2 separate regions of the Homo sapiens genome follow, and region 2 is linked to region 1. Evidence: promoter capture Hi-C in human tissues and cell types (Jung and others, 2019). All regions are on one chromosome and are shown on one strand. Each heading gives the region's core, a stretch centred on a gene start or on the middle of the fragment in contact. The rest is flanking DNA. Distances are from core to core; before and after follow the strand shown.

Region 1 (3,167 bases), core at 362-2,861:
GAGGTGACTCCAAGTCAGGGGAGCTAACTGGGAAGAGAGGCTTGGGGAGAAGAAAGGGAAGTGTGTCTGGAGGGCAGGACTTACAAAGTGACAAGTTACAGGCTATTTTTGGTTCCTGGGCTGCCCTGAGACCCCAGGCCACAGCCTTAATGGCGATCACAGAGGCAGCTCCCCTGTGGGCCTCGGATTTGAGACTGCAATCCTGGACACTGCCCTGTACCCTCCAAGCCCCTTTCCCCAGCAAAGCCACAGGTCACTCTCCGGGCTGGGGCTCCCCAAGAGCCCCAGGTCATGGGATCCTGAAGAACAGCATCCCCCTGCCAGGACTTGGCTGGGGGAGACCAGGGCCTCAGGGACAGCCCCCTCCCACCCAGTCCTGAGTCATGCACTTGTACCCAGCTAGGTTCCAGAAAGGGCTGCAGGGACAAACACTGGCCGGACACTGGTGGACCTGTGACTGGCCTCCTGAGTGGCTCAGCCTCTGTGGCCTCTGGTGACCTCATCTGTGAAATGGCAACGAGGGGCCTGAGAGCAGAGGGTGGGCCAGGCCCAGGGGAGCGCCCTGTCCCCAACCAACCCCTGCACAGCTGGTGCTTGGGCGCAGCTCTGGCCAAGTTCCAACATACCCTTCAACATTTTTAACATTTTTACCACCCCAGGTTTACAGAGGAGGAAACGGAAGGCTCCAGAGATGACACTCACCGGGATCGGGGATCGCACAGCGCGGGCTCGGGGAAGTTGGGGGAGGCACGCAACCTTTGAACCTTTTGCCCGTGGTTGGTGTCTGACCTTGGACAAGACCCCCTCCCGCAGCCCTGGGCGTCGGTTGTGAGCAGACGGCTGTCCCATCTTGCAGCGGGCGGGTGGGCAGGAGCTCCACCTTCCGCTGCAGGCGCTCGCCCAGAGGAAGAGGCGCGGGGGCTGGGGGACCCCTGCCCCGACGGGCGCTGCCGCCCCGGCAGCTGCGAGAATCCGACGCGCCAGGGCGGAGCGGGGATCGTGGCGCCGCGGGGCTGTACGAGGGCGAGCTGCGCCTCGGCCAGGGGTCCCGCAGTCCCGCCTCCCCGGCCCGGGGGCGTGGGTGGGGGCCGTTACCTTCCCGTCATGGTGGCAGCGACGCCGAGCCCTGGGTTGCCGGGGTTGCCGCGGGTCTCCCTCTGCTGCTGCAGCCGCCAGCCGAGCGCCCGCCCGCCAGCCCGGGCCGCGGAGCAGGGAGACGCCCAAAAAAGGCCAAGAGCCGCTCCGCCCGCGAGAGGGGTGGGCGGGGGTGGCAGGGTGGGGCCCGCGGGGCGGGGTGGGATGGGGAGGTCAAGGCTGAGGGTGGTGGGGGTGTTGGGGAGGTGACGGTGGGAGGTTGCGGGAGTATAGGTGGGGGTGGGGGTGGCAGGTGGGGGTGGCGGCGGGTAGGGTTGGAGGGGTGGGGGTTAAAGGTGGGGCTGACGGTGGGGTTGGAGGGGTGAGAGTGAGGCGGGGGTGGGAGTGGGGGTAAAAGTAGGGGTAAAGGTAGAGGGTGGGCCCCGCTCCCGCACAGCCCCAGCTCCAGGGACACGGAGCGCGGCCAGCGGCGGGCGCGGGTCAAGTCCTTCCCAACCCGGGCTCTGCTCGCCACCTCCTGGATTCCGGGCATAGCTTTCCTTTTAAAGGGAGTAAAGTTATAATAAACGCGAACAAGCACCCCCACCCCCACAGCCCCGCCGGGACGCCCCGCCCGGCGCCCCCTCTGCAGTCCCTGGGCCGCCCCAACCGCAAACGCGTGCAGGAGATGGTAGGCGTGGGGGCGATGCTGAGACCACCTCCCTCCCGGGCTTTCCTAGCCCGGAGTTCCCACCGCGGATCTGGGCACTGACTCCCTCCCGAGGCACCCGGGACCGCCGAGTCCACGCAGTCCCGCCCCCAGGGAGGCTAAAGCCGAGAGGCGTCCCTCTTCAGTCGCAAAGCTGCTTTCCCCGGGAAATTCCGATTTCATCCCCCGTTGCGGGCCATCGCCCTAACTTGGCGAAAGATATTTCTTAAACGACAAAACCAAATGCCCAGCTCCCAGGTTTCCAGGGGAACCAGGCACGCCTCTGTATAATGAAGCGCTGAGAAGCTACCATTAGAGGCGTTAAGATGGAGGGGTAATATAAACTATTTAGGGAATCTCTTCGGAGGAAATTTTCAAACAAACAAAACAAAAAACCCCCGCCCTGCCTAAAGGCAGATATTTCCAGCTGGACAGTGGCGTGCAGCTCATCTTTGGAAGCAGCCCAGATGTCACACTGAGGTTTGGGAGCTGGGCGGCCTGATGTGTAAATGTGGTGCTACTCCGGTCTTGGCAGCAGAGAAAGATGATCTAGAAATGACGGTGTGAATTAGCAACCCACAAATAAACTGGTGCCGTTCAGAAAGATGAGTTGATAGTATCCTGCAGTTCCACCTGCAGAAATAAGCTGGGAAAAGACACCTGTTCCTAAGTGGCTGGTATTGTGGAGTGCCTTTGCAGTTGTTACTTTTTTTTTTTTTTTTTTTTTGAGACGGAGTTTCGCTCTTATTGCCCAGGCTGGAGTGCAATGGTGCAATCTCCGCTCACTGCAACCTCCGCCTCCCAGGTTCAAGCGATTCTCCTGCCTCAGCCTCCCAAGTAGCTGGGATTACAAGCATATGCCACCACACCCAGCTAATTTTGTATTTTTGATAGAGATGGGTTTCACCATGTTGGTCAGGCTGGTTGCAAACTCCTGGCCTCAGGTGATCCGACTGTCTCGAGTTATTACTTCTTGTTGCGAGCGTGTCTCAGCTGATTCGGCTTAACTGTAATTTGATGGTTGATTAAGCTTAAGTATGGATAATTTCTTGGCTCACCTGCTCATACAGGGAGAAAGGCTTTCCACCATTACTGACACAGAGGTGTAGGCATGCTGGGGCCGTGCACCAGAAATCCACTGCTGGACGGTTAATTGAATATCAGGGTCTTGTGGGAACCAAAGAGGATGAAAAGTTGAAAGCATTACACCAGAGGCCCATGCTCTCCACAGAGGAGACCACATTCCTGCCTTTTAGCCCAAAAGCCTCCCTGCATATGATAGCTGAGCACACACGGATCTGTATGTGGCCAAACCAGGACCCTATGCAGCTCCCAGTGTGCCTCATCCCTGGGCCAGGGCAAGCTCAGTAACAGCTGGTAGGGG
Region 2 (3,167 bases), core at 333-2,832, 130 kb after region 1:
TCCAAAGAAGATATACAGGCTGGACACGGTGGCTCACGCCTGTAATCCCAGCACTTTGGGAGGCCAAGGCAGGTGGATCACTTGGGGTCAGGAGTTTAAGACCAGCCTGCGCAACATGGCGAAACCCCATATCTACTAAAAATACAAAAATTAGCCGGACATGGTGGCAGGCACCTGTAATCCCAGCTACTCAGGAGGCTGAAGCAGGAGAATCGCATCAATAGAAAAATGCAAAACAAAACCACGATGAGCACCAGGAACAGTGGTTCCAGCTACTCGAACCACCTCCTGCTGGAGTTCAGGCAGGAGGACTGCTTGAGCCCAAGAGTTCGAGGCTGCAGTGCACTGTGATCACACCTGCACTCCTGCCTGGGCAACAGAGTGAGACCCCGTCTCTAAAATATATAAATAAATGAATACCACAATTAGATAACACTTCACATCCACTGGGATGGCTATGGTCAAAAAGAGGGAAAATAAGAAGTGTTAGTGAGAATGTGGAGAAACAGTAACCCTCATGAGAAGTCCATCTGGATTACAAAAGAATAGTGGTTGTTAGGCATAAAATAAACTGAAAATTAGGTGGGAAAATAGTCAAGAATTTCCTCAAATGTTAAATGTCAAAATACCATGTGACCCAGCAATTCTACGCCTAGGTAAATTCCCAAGGGAACTGAAAGCATTATGTCCACACAAATATTTGTACGTGAATGTTTACAGCAGCGTTATTAATAATAATCAAAAAGTGAAAACAATCCTAATGTCCATCAACTGAATCATAAAAATTACAGCTTCTGATCCCAAATCACCATCAACACTTAACAAAAATAATCTTTCTCCTTAAAAACAAGAAGCAAGCCTGGGCGCAGTGGCTCATGCCTGTACTCCCAGCACTTTGGGAGGCCGCGGCAGGCGGATCATGAGGTCAGGAGATCAAGACCATCCTGGCTAACATGGTGAAACCCCGTCTCTGTTAAAAAAATTCAAAAAAATTAGCCAGGCGTGGTGGAGGGCGCCTGTAGTCCCAACTACTCGAGAGGCTGAGGCAGGAGAATGGCATGAACCCAGGAGTCGGAGCTTGCAGTGAGCTGAGATCGCATCACTGCACTCCAGCCTGGGCAACATAATGAGACTCCGTCTCAAAAAAAAAAAAAAAAAACCAACAAGCAAAAAAATTCAAATGTTATGAAGGAATTGCAGAGGGAAAAAAATAATAATAAAACCATAGACTTTACAAAGCCTATTTCTGTAAACTGTACTTGGCCCTGAGTTTTAATTTAAATCTATTCCTGTATATGAAACTGAAACTTTATTAAAGCTATTTAAGACAGAAATCTCCTTCCTTTTACAAAAAATAATTGTGTACACAGTATTGCCACAATAAACTGGTTAAAGCTCTTTACTGAAACTTTTAACAGTCTAACTTCTGAAACTCAATGATAGCTGTAGTGATGGAATATTACTATTATTGGGCTGTAAAACTTTAGGATGGGCATAGTGGCTCATGCCTATTGTAATCTCAGCACTTCAGGAAGCCGAAGTGGGAAGATGGAGCCCAGGAGTTTGAGACCAGCCAGGACAGACAACATAGTGAGACCCTGTCTCTAGGAAAAAAAAAAAAAAGAAAAGAAAAACAAAATTAGCCAGGCATGGTGACATACACCTGTTGTCCCAGCCGCTCGGGAGGCTAAGGCAGGAGGTTTGCTTGAGCCCGGGACGTTGAGGCACAGTGAGCTATGATTATACCACTGTACTCCAGCAGGGGTAACAGAAGGAGACCTTTTCTCAGAGGAAAAACACACACAGACACAGAAAATAATAACTGTTGGTAAGAACATGAAGAAATTGGAACCATTGTGTACTGACTGTAAAATGGTACAATGAGGCTGGGCATGGTGGCTCACACCTGTAATCCTAGCACTTTGGGAGGCCATGGTGGGAGGATCACTTTGAGGCGAAGACCAGCCTGAGCAACACAGTGAGACTCTGTCTCTAAAAAACAAACAAACAAACAAAAAACACACAACAAAAAAAAAAAAAACAGTACAATCACTATGAAAAACAGTATAGAGGTTCTTCAAAAATGTTAAAAACAGAATTACATTATGAGCCAGGTGCAGTGGTTCATGCCTATCTCAGGACTTTGTGGAGCGGAGGCATGTGCATCACTTGAGGTTAGGAGTTCAAGACCAGCCTAGCCAACATGGTGAAATCCCATCTCTACTAAAAATACAAAAAATTAGCTGGGCGTGGTGGTGCACACCTGTAGTGCCAGCTACTCGGGAGACTGAGGCAGGATAATTGTTTGAACCCAGGAGACGGATGCTGCAGTGAGCCGAGATCGTGCCACTGCACTCCTGCCTGGGTGATACAGTGAGACTCCATCTCAAAAAAAATGGTTAAGGCCAGGCACAGTGGCTCCTGCTTGTAATCCCAGCACTTTGGGAGGCTGAGGCAGGCAGATCACTTGAGGTCAGGAATTCCAGACCACCCTGGCCAACATGGTAAAACCCCGTCTCTACTAAAAATACAAAAATTAGCCAGGTGTGGTGGCATGCACCTGTAGTCCCAGCTACTCAGGAGGCTGAGGCAGGAGAATCACTTGAACCCAGGAGTGAGCTGAGATCACGCCACTGCACTCCAGCCTGGAGGAGAGAGCAAGACTCCGACTCAAAAAAAAAAAATTAAGACAGTAAAATTTTGCTATGCATTTATCACAATTTATAAAAAAAAAAATCAAGTGTCACAAGCATATACAGCATGCCAACTTTCTTCTAAGAATGTGAAAATAAGAATATACACAGTAAAAACTGGAATGAACTCCAGAGCTCAGAGACAGAAGCAAGACTTAACTACTTTTTCTTCAGCCTCCGTCTCCTGGGTGCAAGCAATTCTCCTGCCTCATCCTTCAGAGTAGCTGGGATTACAGGCATGTGCCACCACGCCTGGCTAATTTTTGTATTTTTAGTAGAGATGGGGTTTCACCATGTTGGCCAGGCTGGTCTCAAACTCCTGACCCCAGGTGATCTGCCCCCCTCGGCCTCCCAAAGTGCTGGGATTACAGATGTGAGCCACCACGCCCAGCCAGTACTTTTTCAATATAGTATTTAATTTTATTCCTTCTTGGTCACAGGTGCTTAAAAATTTTTTTTCAGTAGATTTTAAAC

The links. The method cuts DNA at HindIII sites, captures the fragments that hold promoters and counts their contacts. A contact is called where the count stands out against the background at its distance.
Region 2: a contact is called between a fragment that was not itself captured here and the fragment with the promoter of LIMS2 in region 1, in 2 of the 25 tissues and cell types used here (aorta and pancreas).

Annotation. Positions count from the first base shown.
Region 1 is chr2:127,673,919-127,677,085 of GRCh38, forward strand. It overlaps LIMS2 (LIM zinc finger domain containing 2), which reads right to left and starts at 1,612. Exons shown (of 10, transcript NM_001161403.3): 1 at 1,096-1,612. The coding sequence starts at 1,106. The HindIII fragment of the contact is 18,801 bases long and covers 1-3,167 here.
Region 2 is chr2:127,799,496-127,802,662 of GRCh38, forward strand. All of the region lies in intron 1 of WDR33 (WD repeat domain 33), which reads right to left. Among named protein-coding and RNA genes, the nearest start is that of WDR33, 10 kb to the right of the region's middle. The HindIII fragment of the contact is 5,125 bases long and covers 1-3,167 here.